3 separate regions of the Homo sapiens genome follow, and regions 1 and 3 are each linked to region 2. The links are contacts of gene promoters, found by promoter capture Hi-C in human tissues and cell types (Jung and others, 2019). All regions are on one chromosome and are shown on one strand. The core of a region is centred on a gene start or on the middle of the fragment in contact, and the rest is flanking DNA. Distances in the headings are between cores, read along the strand shown. Region 1 overlaps LOC105374493 (a long non-coding RNA gene). Region 2 holds the start of NKX3-2 (NK3 homeobox 2). Region 3 has its middle 500 kb from the start of RAB28.

What was found. The method cuts DNA at HindIII sites, captures the fragments that hold promoters and counts their contacts. A contact is called where the count stands out against the background at its distance.
Region 1: a fragment that was not itself captured here is called in contact with the fragment with the promoter of NKX3-2 in region 2 in 2 of the 25 tissues and cell types used here (H1 embryonic stem cells and lymphoblastoid cells).
Region 3: a contact is called between a fragment that was not itself captured here and the fragment with the promoter of NKX3-2 in region 2, in 1 of the 25 tissues and cell types used here (lymphoblastoid cells).

Annotation. Positions count from the first base shown.
Region 1 is chr4:12,961,289-12,966,092 of GRCh38, reverse strand. LOC105374493 (a long non-coding RNA gene) reads left to right here. Exons shown (of 3, transcript XR_007058047.1): 1 at 1-2,417. Among named protein-coding and RNA genes, the nearest start is that of RAB28, 520 kb to the left of the region's middle. The HindIII fragment of the contact is 4,471 bases long and covers 425-4,804 here.
Region 2 is chr4:13,541,603-13,546,268 of GRCh38, reverse strand. NKX3-2 (NK3 homeobox 2) reads left to right here and starts at 1,761. Exons shown (of 2, transcript NM_001189.4): 1 at 1,761-2,320; 2 at 3,741-4,666. The coding sequence starts at 1,855. The coding sequence ends at 4,276. It overlaps LINC01096 (long intergenic non-protein coding RNA 1096), which reads left to right. Exons shown (of 1, transcript NR_015450.1): 1 at 1-193. RefSeq lists a silencer at 3,836-3,965. The HindIII fragment of the contact is 14,287 bases long and covers 1-4,666 here.
Region 3 is chr4:12,980,699-12,985,677 of GRCh38, reverse strand. No RefSeq gene overlaps it. Among named protein-coding and RNA genes, the nearest start is that of RAB28, 500 kb to the left of the region's middle. The HindIII fragment of the contact is 7,964 bases long and covers 1-4,979 here.

The DNA of each region.
Region 1 (4,804 bases), core at 1,411-3,910, 580 kb after region 2:
TCTTACACGAACACATCATGTTTTCCTTCATTTTACCTCAATTTTTTTTTCTAGTCTCATTATATCTTGATATTTCTCCCTAAATAGTAAGCTAAGAAACCTAAAACTGTTTGCCATTCCAAAACACTTTCTAGCACTGGTCTACCTTTTTTTTTTTTTCTTTGGTTTCTTACCCCAGTCATCTGCTTTTAGGCAACTCCTATTCATTCTTTGAAACATAACCTAAATGCCCTTCTGTTTCATTCAAAGCATTCATCAGACATCTTGTATGTGCTGGATGCTAGGGGTGTCCTTGCCCTCATAGAGCTAGTTTAATCAGGTAGAAAATACAGGAGACGTAATAAGCAACTGCAGCACAGCATGCACTTTATGATGAGTTATCTATGCTGCTCTGAGATGGCATGAATGTAACATGGTTTTATAAAATTCTTTCTTGATTTAGTTTTGAAGTCCCCGCTGGAGGCTGGTCAGTTTCTTTTCTTGAACAGCTAATTAACTCCATACCCCCAACCACTTCCTTATCAGGCTTTCACATGCCTGAACACTATCCACCAGCCTAATCGCCCCAGGGCCAGGTACCAGACAATCAGGGATGACCCCATGCCTCAGAGCCTACTGAAGGTATTCAGACTCGCTAATTCTGAGCCCGTGTACTCTGTATTCCCTGTTTCTTCCCATGGAAACCACCATAAAGATACTTGCCCATGATTTTCCTTTCTCCCTCTGCTTTGACCCTGAGTGGCATGTAGTACTCTTACCCAAATCCTGTAATGTACACAGGAAGAGTAGTCAAGAGATCACAACCTTCTTTTTAAACTTATCATCACTGGCCTGAATCCTTGATTCATTTTTCTTGTGTTGTCTGCCATATTACAAACTCCTTTGGGCAGAGACTTTATTATTTATCTTTATGCTCTGGGACCTCACAGAGCCTGGCATACAGTACATGTTCAATAAATATCAAATAGTAATAAGGTAATAGAATAAGCGAATAAATGAATACCACGAAATGGCACTATTTTTTTGGTCTTGTCTTTTTGAGAGTTGCCTTTTATCCAATTCTGCACCATGTTGATTGTCTCAAATACATGAAATTTAATATAATACACTCTTTTTTTCAAGTTTAAATCATTTCCACAAGACCAGTAATTACTTTGTAAGAATAATGCCCAAATATTCTGACCTTTCCTCTCTATTCTGAAAGTGAAAATTATCAGTGAATGAATTAAGAATTCATTGCATGCTTTTCTCTTAAATGAATGAGATTTCTAGCAGATGTTTGAACTGTTAACAGTTTTTGCCACGACCCTATCAAACCTGACTGCAAGAAGCCTCTGAGAAATTTCTCACCCATTTCTTTTCTCTGGCTGGGGGTTGCAGTATGCTCTCACAGTTTTTCACTTCACTGTGGCTTGTATCTTTCCAACATAATTTTATGTCCAACAATGACATGAACTTCCTTGGAAGTACTGATGTCTATTGCTGGATGTCTGAAGCAGCAGTGGTTCACTTCTATCAGGATAACTTTCATCAGCAGGCAGATTAAAATAACACTTTTAAAATGTTTTTTTTTTTCTATATATAAAACTTAAGCAATTCTCCACACTTTGAGGGAGGATGAACTGTTCTCAAAATGCTGTTAGTCAGAAGCTGAATAAGACCCCATACTGGCATCAGGAAAATATTTAAATGATTCCCTTCTAGTTATTTTAGCAATAATGGAATTCAGCTCAGGAAGTTTATGTTAAATGTAATCTCACTGGAGTTTTCAGTGAGCTTTTCACCTTGCCTGATGGATGATAAAGAGTCAAGGCCTCTTTCAGCGGAACTGTACTCTTTTTTTATTACCCTCTCTCCTATTCTGACTAAAGAGCACATTTGATATAAATGGAGAGTTTCATTTAAACAGATCACAATCCAATTTGAATTCTTCTTATCAGATTGGACTACTCAAAAATGGTGCAGCAAGAGATTCAAACCTTGCTTGCTCACAAGGTTAATATTTACAAATATTGACTTCTGTTGAGCCCTTTGGAACTTAAAAAATAGTCTCTTGATTTCTCAGTGATAACACAGGAGGGATTTTTGTTTTGTTTTTTTAGTTGGGCAGTGCACAATTTTATATTTTTACTCTGAAAGCTGGTTTGCAAGGAGGTGCATAAATATTATTTATCAAATTACTAGCATTTTTTGCAATGCAACTTATGTTTTTATAATGACACCAGATTAAGAAGAGTGAAAGAATTGAGCTGCAAATCTAAGCTTTGCACTCCCAATCTTATGTTGGAATAATAAATTCAGTTCAGCCATAACTTACTGAATATGTCTAATATTTCTGAAAATGTCTGAGATATTACTGGATAGGTCATAGAAGAAATATGGAGAAATGGAAACTAGAATGATCTGTGTGATTCTAGGTAAGTCTTATAATCTTGCTGTTCCTTCTTTTTTCTCTGTCAGATTCAGAGAACAATTTCTGCCTTGTTAGTTCTATAAAGTTAAAGTAAAGCTCACATATGACAGTGAATGTGGAAGTGACATGCAATTTGGAAAATAAATCAGGCTTATTCACTCTGAAGTTGAGAGAGACTTGGAAGCAGGATCTGACTCAAAGTAATATTTGTACTCAAACTGACTAGTCAACAATAAGGTATCTTTCATTTGATAATCAGCCTCAGGGAATGTGCAAATCCATACCATTGCTTGGACCTTTTCTCTTCCATTTCCTATTTAATAAATTTCCATCTTGGGTCACATTATTTTGGGAAAGTTAACTAATCAAGTAAACTTATTTAAGGTGAAGTGTTAATGCATGGTAGTGATTGAATGCTATGTATTTTCATCTGTACACAGGGATGGCAAAGCTTCAGAAAAGCTACACACACACACACACACACACACACACACACACATCCATAGATGTCCATACATATACACATATTTAATTTAATTCATAGATATTGAAAAATAAAATTCTTATATTAAAATCAATATGGACAAATTTTAAATTATGTCAATAATTTAAAAAACAAATTCACATGAAATTTTAAGATTTAAAAAAAAACTTTAAATGAATTGCATGCTTTTTGTAGGATGCTATGGTTGTGTTTCCACAACTTCCAAGGGCACAAGTAACTTTTTTCTGTCATTAGACTTCAAGGAAAATGTTTTACAAATACTGGCTTAAGAATTGACTCCTTAAAAATAATCTATTTATAGAGAGGGAATCCTAGAAGCCTCATCTTCATAAGTGATGACTCATACAAAGTTTAGTGGCAAGACGCAGGTATTTTAGAATATGCATACAACTTATAGAGAAACAGAGATGCAGAAACAGACAGTGAGAACTCAAAAGAGAAATGGAGAGGGGAGCTAGGAGAGAGAACTTTCAGATCCATTCAAACCATATTAATCTGGAAAATCATTTGACTATTTTTTTTTGTTTTTTTTTTGTGTGTGTTTTTGCCCAGACTTTCTAGAATGAAATTAACCAAGACTGAGCTCTTTCCAGAGTAGATTTCATCATTTTTGTATAGGAGAGGCTTGGTGGGATAAATCTGTTGAAACGGGTGCTTTAAGCTGAGGGTACATGCTGTGAATATATGTCTACTGTTCACAAAATGAAATGGAGAGATGGCAGGATGAAGGGGAAGGGAGATGATGATGGGGATATTTAAAGTCTTTTAGCGCTTTGTCTCTCTTTGGGCTATTTTGAAGCTCTTGTATATTTTGACACTTTGGATATCTCTGGAAGGTAGAATGGTGAGTCGGGGGATGCAGACCTCGCTTGCTCACAAAAACCACCTGGTGTGATTGTTTAAATTTCACAAACTTAACCCAGACTTATCCAGATGAGATCTCTTAGACAGAGGCCTGAAAATGTATATTTTTATTAAGTGCTTCAGGTTATTTTTTGAATCAGAAACACATAGGAAATACTGGTTTAGTAGAAAAAGATAGAGGTTTGGAGCCAGACAGACCAAATAAAAATCTCAGCCACTTAGTAGCTATGTGACTTTAACTAAAGCAGTTTATATTTCTCTAGAATGAAAATTATAAATCCCTTTCTTATAGGATTGAATCAAGTCACAGAAAAGCATCCTGCGGGCAACCCCTGACATAAAGTAGACATTCAATACACACTTGTTTTCCTTTCACTCTTCCGGGAACCTGATGTTTGTTTTTCTGTTTTCCTTTCTGTGCTGGCTGCTTAGCACTGCTCCATCACTCATGGGAAGACCCTGACCTTTCTCTTCAGTGAACATGGATGAAGTTCAGGCAGCATCAGCATGCACAATGAGTGAAGCAGAGATTCCCTGAATTCAGTAGAATTTTATCTTAGACAAATGTCTACACTTATTTTGTGTTTTGTATACTATCTTTGCTGGGGTTGTTTCAAAAATTAGAAAATATTTTAGTATTAAAATCTCAAATAGATCTCCCCAAATAAAACAAATTAAAAAACCTCAACCCAAAAGATAAACCTCTACCCATGCCAAGCACATCTTATTTCCTCATTATTTTACAAAAGATTCAAACTGCAAGATGATAAATAATGGCCACTAGAAAGAAATGCAGCAAGAGGGATGAATATTTACATAGTAATAAAGTGGATATCATTGTTCCATTGACAAGGTGATTTTTTTAAATGGAGAGATCAGTTGTGCATTCAACACACACTTCAGAAACACCTATTCAATATCACTGTGTAGCAGGCACTGCTGAATACTAGGAATAAACACAGTTTCTCACTTCAAGGATTTTACAAATGTAAAGGTAAATATATGATAGGAATATATTATAT
Region 2 (4,666 bases), core at 512-3,011:
TGCTGAAAAGTATAGATGCTGCAAAACCTCATTCTGAGACTGAGAACTATGAATAGTCAGTGTATTTCCTTCTGCGGTGCAGAAAAAGAACAACCAAAAAGAAAGCAACAAGGGGAGATGTTATTTATTTTAATGACACCAAAACTACCAATCCTAGCAATTTAATAAATTAAAATCATAGTCCTTTAAATGTATTTAATGGTTCAAGTTTGTGTATTTGGTGTTAACTCTCTGGTAAAGTTTATGGAAAACAGTGAAGTACGTTAATTGAGCAAATTTTATATTAAAAAAGGAATAACACATTTTAAAATGTTTTTATATACCCACAATATTTGTGTTTCTTAGCTTGGTTCCTACTATTACATAATACAATGCATTTCTTATTTTTTAAAGAGCAAAAAGTGTTGTCACTTCTGGATCACTTTATGGTAATTCCTAGGTATACTTCTAAGCAAACAAACATATCTATTTATAATTTTATTCAACTCACAAGTAAGAGATATTTAAAAAAAACAAATTGAAAGTTTTTTTTTTCTTCCTGATGCAAAACTTAACAAACTCCAATTAAATTCAATATTGGTCTGCCAGGGAAACGACCATAAAATTTACAGAAATTCTCCCAAAGATGCCTTTCAATTCTTCTCCTGACTTTAGTTCTAACTATACCATTTTTTTATAATTCCTCTATAAAAATCGAATCAAATCAAAGACGACGAGGAAAGAAAAATATTTCTAGAGTGATCTTAATTAACTGATCATTTCAGCAAAGAGCATTAGCAATGAAGAAGCGGCGAAACTGTAGGGAGAAAAAAAAGGATGCATTTTGTTCTTCGTGTTTATAATCCTTCCTAGAGAACAGAAACTACGAGCATGATTTATGGAACTGCATTATCTTGGATTTTCTCCGCAGATTTGACTCAACTTAGTATCAGTGTTCTGTTAAAGCGCTGGAATAAGTGGATACATCTGCAGAGGTAAGAAACGTGGTTTGGGTCGGATGAGCCTCCTTGTTGCTGGAGGGTGCTTCGAGGACCAGGCTTAGGAGAGAAGGGGTTAAGTCAGACCCTGTCTTTAGCGGCGCAACGTGCCCAGTTTTGTCTGTTAAAGTCAACGTCGCCCAACTGGAGCCAGCCAATGGACGGCCGGGAGCGCCCGGGACAGCCCAGTGGAGGGGTGTGGCCTCAGGCTGTCACTCAGCAGTGAGGAATGACACCCGGGCGGGAGGGGGGTGGTACAGTGGAACGCAAGGGAAGGAAAGAGAAAAGAAACAGATAAAACCAGGGCAGGGGGTAAAAAAGTTCCCCGCGCCTCTCGGAATCCAGCGGCCGCGGCCGCGGCTACCGCCGCCGCCGCCGGGGGTGGGCTCCGGAAGAGCCTGCCCAGCAGGGAAGGGGAGGACGGGCCAGGAGCGAAATCCTGCAGGCGAGGAAGGGACAGACGCGCAAAGAAAAAGTGACTCGGGCTGTGCGCCCCGGCGGCGCTCGGGAGGGGACTGCTGCCACGGAGGGGCCCCCGCCAATCCTCCTTCACGTCCCCCGAGGGGGCAGACCCCAGCCCGCCCCTAAGGGCGAGAAGCGATGAGATAATCCAGCTGAGCTGCGAAAGGAGAGCGTCTGGCTCTGGATTCGGGGGGAGGGGGTCTCCGGGCGGGGTGGGCCTCTAAGGTGGGGGCGAGGGTCGGCGCTGATCCTGGGACGGAGTGGGGCGGGAGCTGCTGGGCCGCGCAGCAGTGGGCGGCGGCGGCCTCGCACACCCAGCTCACTCGCGCTGCGGCCGCCGGCGCTCTCTGTCCCGCTCGGAGCTGCTCGGCGCCCCAGCTGCCCGCCCCGCCGGCCGCTCCTGCCCGCGGCGCAGATGGCTGTGCGCGGCGCCAACACCTTGACGTCCTTCTCCATCCAGGCGATCCTCAACAAGAAAGAGGAGCGCGGCGGGCTGGCCGCGCCAGAGGGGCGCCCGGCGCCCGGGGGCACAGCGGCATCGGTGGCCGCGGCTCCCGCTGTCTGCTGTTGGCGGCTCTTTGGGGAGAGGGACGCGGGCGCGTTGGGGGGCGCCGAGGACTCTCTGCTGGCGTCTCCTGCCGGTACCAGAACAGCTGCGGGGCGGACTGCGGAGAGCCCGGAAGGCTGGGACTCGGACTCCGCGCTCAGCGAGGAGAACGAGAGCAGGCGGCGCTGCGCGGACGCGCGGGGGGCCAGCGGGGCCGGCCTTGCGGGGGGATCCTTGAGCCTCGGCCAGCCGGTCTGTGAGCTGGCCGCTTCCAAAGACCTAGAGGAGGAAGCCGCGGGCCGGAGCGACAGCGAGATGTCCGCCAGCGTCTCAGGTCTGCTGCGGCTTCGCGGGGATGGGGGCCGGGCTGAGGGGATGGACGCGGAGGGCAACCACGCCGAGTGGGGTGGTCGGCTTGAGCACCCTGCGCCCTGGGGCTCGGAGGCTGGCCAAATCCCGAAGTTCTGCGCTCTGGCGCGAGCTGCTCTATCACTTCGGGAACTGAGCCCGCGAGAGACCGGAGTAGCTCCTCAGAGCCCTACGTCCTGGGGTGAGGCCTGAGACATCCTGGGCCAATGTGCATTAGACTGGGTTGGGAGAACCGCTGCCCCTTGCGTTCGGGAGTTTTTGAGTTCGTCGCCAGTGCTTTCTGCCGTGTCTGTCCCCAAATCCCCAAAATCAGGGAAGCGGAAAAGTGAGGGGTTCAGAGACCTCAGGTAGCCAGTGACCTAGCTCTGGACCAGAGACCTGCCAGTTCAAGGTCCCAGGGCCGGGCCCCACAGTAGGTGGATAGGTGGTGAAGAACACCTCCGAGTGGGCCAGAGCTGAGAATCTGCAGAACTAGAGCTTTGGGGAAAGGGCTGGTTTGGCTTTCTCAGACCCCAGGTCTGGGAGAGCAGCCCTAGGCCGAAGATCCCGGATTGGGTCTTTAGTTCATCCTGGAGGCAGGAGAGAGGCCTCCTCAGCCGTGGCCTGTCCTGTCCTGTGGTCTGGAAGACCCGGGTGCCTGCCCTAGTTGGGTACAAGCTTCTGTAGGCCTCAAGCACAGGGGACCGCTGGACCTTTCTGCTGGAGTTCTTCGGAAGGGCGGGTACGAGACCGAGAAGCTGGTGTGGGATCAGGGTCCAAAAACTCGATGCAGGGGCAACCCTCCCTCTTTACTCTCCAGTCCATCCTCTCATCTAAGGCCTCGGCTCAGCCTGTTTCCATGTCTCTCACAGCAATCCCAGGCGGCTGAGGGTGAAAGATTCTAAATACCTTTGGCCCCAGGATCCGCCTCCACCTTCCCTTACCTGCACCAGACAAGTGTGTGCTGCGAGGACGCGCGCGTGTGTGCGTGTGAACTAAGTGTGGAGAGGCGCGTGAACCCAAGCAGAGAGACGGAAATGCAGTCTAGAATCCCAATGCTCAACGCTGAGAGCCGGGAGGGCTTTCGCGGATGCTCGGGTCGAGTGCCCCAAGTTACTGAGGGGAGCCTGGGGCCCAGAGAGGGTGGGGAGCTGGTCTCGACAACACAGCGTTGACACAGCGGCTGAGTCTGCCGCCCTCCCCAGAAGAGGCCTAGATGGGATACCCAGTGGGGCAAGAGTCTAAGACTGGTCTCCCGGGCCCAGGGCCTCCCAGACCTCCGCTCCGCTTGAGTGGGATCAAAGTGTATTTCCGCCCCACTCCCGTGACCCCTGCAGTTGAGGCCCGGCCTCACCTCGTCTGTGGCGCTGACAGTCTCTTGTTTCTGTTCCCACCGGGGTCCGCAGGCGACCGCAGCCCAAGGACCGAGGACGACGGTGTTGGCCCCAGAGGTGCACACGTGTCCGCGCTGTGCAGCGGGGCCGGCGGCGGGGGCGGCAGCGGGCCGGCAGGCGTCGCGGAGGAGGAGGAGGAGCCGGCGGCGCCCAAGCCACGCAAGAAGCGCTCGCGGGCCGCTTTCTCCCACGCGCAGGTCTTCGAGCTGGAGCGCCGCTTTAACCACCAGCGCTACCTGTCCGGGCCCGAGCGCGCAGACCTGGCCGCGTCGCTGAAGCTCACCGAGACGCAGGTGAAAATCTGGTTCCAGAACCGTCGCTACAAGACAAAGCGCCGGCAGATGGCAGCCGACCTGCTGGCCTCGGCGCCCGCCGCCAAGAAGGTGGCCGTAAAGGTGCTGGTGCGCGACGACCAGAGACAATACCTGCCCGGCGAAGTGCTGCGGCCACCCTCGCTTCTGCCACTGCAGCCCTCCTACTATTACCCGTACTACTGCCTCCCAGGCTGGGCGCTCTCCACCTGCGCAGCTGCCGCAGGCACCCAGTGAACCCGCTTGGGCTGAGGCAGCGAGTGATTCCCGCGCTCCGGCTCCGGACCGGCGCTGACAGCTGTAGGCTGTAGCCTGCACGGGGCGCCCCGCCAAGGAGGCACCTGGAGGTGAAACCCAGCTCCAGCTCCCGTTAGCCAGGACTTGTCCCCTGGCAGCTGGGCTGAGTCTGCCCTGAGGGGGCGCCTTTTTCTAATTTGAACAGAGGCACCCTATGGCCTAGGGGCCCTGATCGCCCACCTGCCTGGAAGCCCCTGGGCTCTATTTATTATCATGACAATGTTGGAATTAAATTTTGATTCGAATATGTCTGCCTGGGGGTGGGGTTTTCCCTGAGCGGCAACTCCTGGAGACCACATAGCCTGAATCCTCAGAATTTCAGGCCTGCTG
Region 3 (4,979 bases), core at 2,127-4,626, 560 kb after region 2:
TGAAATTTATCCAAGGCCTTCTCTACATCTATTGAGATAATCATATGGTTTTTGTCATTGGTTCTGTTTATGTGATGAATTACGTTTATTGATTTGTGTGGGTTGAACCAGACTTGCATCATATTTTTAATTTCCATTAAGACGTTCTTGTCTCCTAATCATTTTATAGTGGTGCTGGATTCAGTTTGCCAGCATTTTATTCAGGATTTTTGTATCAATGTTCATCAGGGATATTAGCCTGAAATTTTCTTTTTTTGTTGTGTTTCTGGCAGTTTTTGGCAGCTACCATTGAGTTTCTTCACAGAATTAGAGAAAACTACTTTAAATTTCATATGGAATCAAAAAATGGTCCATATAGCCAAGCCAATCCTAAGAAATAAGAACAAAGCTGGAGGCATCATGCTACCTGACTTCAAACTATACTACAAGGCTAGAGTAACCAAAAGAGCATGGTACTGGTACCAAAACATACATATATATATATATATATATATATATATATATATATATATATACCAATGGAACAGAACAGAGGCCTCAGAAATAACACCACACATCTATAACTATATGATCTTTGACAAACCTGACAAAAATAAGCAATGGGGAAATGATTCCCTATTTAATAAACTGTGTTGGGAAAACTGGCTAGCCATATGCAGAAAACTGAACCTGGACCCCTTCCTTACACCTTATACAAAATGAACTCAAGATGAATTAAAGACTTAAATGTAAGACCTAAAACCATAAAAACCCTAGAAGAAAACCTAGGCAATACCATTCATGACATAGGCATGGGCAAAGACTTCATGACTAAAACACCAAAAGCAATAGTAACAGAAGCAAAAATTGACAAATGGGATCTAATTAAACTAAAGAGCTTCTGCACAGCAGAAGAAACTATCATCAGCATGAACAGGCAACCTACAGAATGGGAGAAAATTTTTGTAATCTGTCCGTCTGACAAAGGGCTAATATCCAGAATCTACAAAAAACATAAACAAATTTACAAAAAAAAAAACAACCCCATCAAAAAGTGGGCAAAGGATATGAACAGACACTTCTCGAAGACATTTATGCAGCCAACAAGCATATGAAATCTTTATACACCATGGAATACTATGCAGCCATAAAAAAGGATTAGTTCATGTCCTTTGCAGGGACATGGATGAAACTGAAAACCATCATTCTCAGCAAACTAACACAGGAATAGGAAACCAAACACCTCATGTTCTCACTCATAAGTGGGAGTTGAATAATGAGAACACATTGACACAGGGAGGAGAACATCACACACCGGGTCCTGTCAGGGGGTTGGGGCAAGGGGAGGGTAGCATTAGGAAAAATACCTAATGCATGCAGGGCTTAAAACCTAGCTAATGGGTTGATGGATGCAGCAAACCACTGTGGCACATGTATATCTATGTAACAAACATGCACATTCTGCACATATATCCCAGAACTTAAAGTATTAAAAAAAAAACTGAGATAAGAATGTCTTTTGTATGCTAACAAGATAACTCATGGTGGGAGGCCCTAGACAGCTTTGGATGGGGATTGATTGCCAGGAAAATCAACCATGTGATTAGACGGTTAGGACTTTCAGCCCTACTCCCCAAATGAGGGACTGGAGATTGAGTTTAATCAACAATAGTAATGATTTAATCAATCCTACCCACTTTAATGAAACCTTTATGAAAACAACAGAGTTCAAGGGCTTTCTGGTTGTTGATATACTGGGAGGGTAACTCTCCCTGATTCTGCAGGGACAGATGTTCTTGCACTCAGAACCCTTCTGAACCATGACTCCTGTGCCTCTTTATCTTAGCTGTTCATGTGTGTCCTTCAAAATAAATGGTAATAGTAAGTAAAGCACTTTTCTGAGTTGTGTAAGTTGTTCTAGAGAATGGTAAAACTTGAGGGTGCATTGCAGACACTCACAAATTTGTAGTTGATTGAGCAGAAGTGTGGGTAACCTGGGGACATCACTTGCACCTGGCTCTGAAGTAGGGACAGTCTTGTGAGACCGAGTCCTTAACTTGTGGGGTCTGTGCTAACTTTGGGTAGTTAGTGTCAGAATTAAATTTGATGATACAATACCCAACTGGTGTGGGAGAATTGAATTGGTTGGATCTGCGAAAAGAAAACACAGTTATATAGAGCCGAAAGTTAGCCTGAGCTCTTCTCTTAATATTCTGTGGAACTAACACACTAGGAGCCTTAACTTTTCCCTAAAACATCTATCCATTTTCCCCAAAAGCAAAGCTCATCTTATTTGGTGTCAGTGGTAGGCAGAATAATGGTCTCCCAAAGATGGCTGCTTTCTAATCTCTTGTGAATATGTCATGTTGCATGGGGCAAGGTGGAAATTAAGGGTGCAGACAGAATTGAGATTGCTAATCTGCTGACCTTGAGATAGGGAGATTTTCCTGGGGTATCCTGGTGGGCCCAGTATAATCACAAGTATCCCTACATGTGAAAAAGAGAGGTAGGAAAGTCAGTGTTGATGCCTGTATTAGTCTGTAGATATACCTGAGACTAGGCAAGTTACAAAAGAAAGAGGTTTAATGGACTTACAGTTTCATGTGGCTGGGGAAGCCTCACAATCATGGTGAAAGGAAAGGAGGAGCAAGTCATGTCTTACATGGATGGCAGTAGGCGAAGAGAGAGCCTGTGCAGTGAAACTCCCATTTTTAAAACCATCAGATCTCATGAGACTTATTCACTATCGCGAGAACATCATGGGAAAGTTCCACACCCATGATTCAGTTATCTCCCACTGGTTCCCTCCCATAACACATGGAAATTATGGGAGCTACAAGATGAGATTTGGATGGGGACACAGAGCCAAACCATGTCAATGCCCAAGAGAGATTTCAAATTGTTACACTGTTGGCTTTGAAGATTTAAGAAGGGACCATGAGGCAAGAAATGAGGGTGGTTTCTGGAAGCTGAGAAAAATTAGAAAACTGACATTCCCTTAAAGTTTCCAGAAGAAACACATACTTGTTGATACTTTAGTTTATTGAGGCTTATTTCAGACTTATGATCTCCAAAACTGTAAAATACATTCTTGTAGTTTTAAGGCCCTAAGTTCATGGTAATTTGTTATAGCAGTAGAAAACTAATAGAGTCTTCAATCAGTGTTTCACCCAGTTGAGTATTTGCTATGTATTTTTTAAAAATCTCCTTTCTTGGATGCTATGCTCCCATGTCTTTCTGTTTTCTTGCCTCATTTCTGATTCATCCTTCTTTGTCTTCAAAATTTCTTTCTCATAACCTGTAAAAGTTGAAGAATTTCATGATTGGGATAGAGACACTTTTGTATATTTCTGTGTCCTCTTCCTAGTTGATTTCACTGGTACTCTTGGTTTTAAGTATAATCTTTATGCGCTGGTAACTCCAGAAGTTTATTTTTAGTTGAGCCCTCAATACATGTACATTTATGGAATTGTGTATCCAATTGCTTACTTGATATCCTCACTTGGGTGTTTCACAGTTCTCCTAAATTTGACATTTGGATATTGGACTTATGATTTTCTTTTGAATCTTTTGATTCCTGCTTCAGTTAGTGTCTCACTTCATTTAGTGTTGCTCTAAAGGAATGCCTGAGGCTGAGTAATTTATAAGAAAAAGGAGGTTTATTTGGCTTATGGTTCTGCAGACTGTACAAGAAGCATGGCACCTGCATCTGTTTCTGGTGAGGCCTCTGTTTGCACTGATGGCAGAAGTTGAAGGGGAGCCTTTGCGTGCAGATATAACACTGTGGGGGAGGAAGCAAGAGAGCAAACAGGGAGATTCCAGGCTCTTTTTAACAACCAGCTATTGTAGGAACTAATAGAGCAATAATTCATTCATTAATGTAAGGATGGCATCAAGCCATTCATTTGAAATTTGCCCCGGTGGCCCACACATCTCCCACTGGGCCCACCTCCCAACACTGCTACACTGGGGATTACATTTCAACATCATATTTGGAATGATCAGTTATCCAAACCACAGAAGTCAGCTATGGCCATGGTAAGGCTTCATGATAAACTGCCCCCAAATTTAGTAACAGTACACATTTATTCTGACATACACAGGTCTGTAGAGGCTGAGTCATTGTGATTCTAGATATAGACCAATAGTCGAACCCACCTGTCCCCCAGGAAGTTTTCTTTTCCCAGGAAATGCCTTTGCCAATTACCTTGTTGCTCAAGCCAGAAATGAGGGTATTGATCTTCATTTGTCCTTCTCTCTCCGTCTTTGCATCCATTTGCTCTGTAAGTCCTTTATATTTGCCTCCAAAATAGATCTCAAATCTGCCTACTTATCCTGCACTCTCCACTTTACCAGTATATCCAAGCTACTGTAATATTTTCTTCTGGAGTACAGTTATCTTTACTCATTCTTTTTTCATCAGTAAATATTTATTGATAGAATGTCTTTTCAGTGCCACATAGAGTACTTTTCTTATTGATCCTAAGTAAGGCTTTGCCTTTATTCACCATCAGAACTTGCTAATTTCTTGGGACATCTTTGTTTTAAGAACCACAGAGATATTTTGAATAAAACTGATGCAACTCTTTGCCTTCATGGAGCTTATAATCTAGGGAGGGGAGCAAAATATTTTACCTGTGTTTCTTGTTTCCTCTTTTGCCTTCCACCATTCTATCTACCTCACTGAAGCCAGAGTAATTTTAATAGTGAGAGAAGAGTGTTGCTTAGATTCTTTAATGGCTTCATATTGGGGGTGAATCAATATCCAGATTCCTTTTCGGGGCCTACCAAGCCCCATGTGATCTCTGCTCAAGCAGCTCTCACCTGATCTCAGTCTCTTTCCATCTCATGTACTGTGTCCCAGCTACAATGAGCTCCTTTTCAATTTCTAGACTCCATCAAGCTCCCATCTAGCCTAGAGGGTAGCACATGCTAGTTTCCAGCTTAGAATACTATGTTCCTGGATCTTTCCAGATCTCTGCTTAAAGATTATCTTTTTG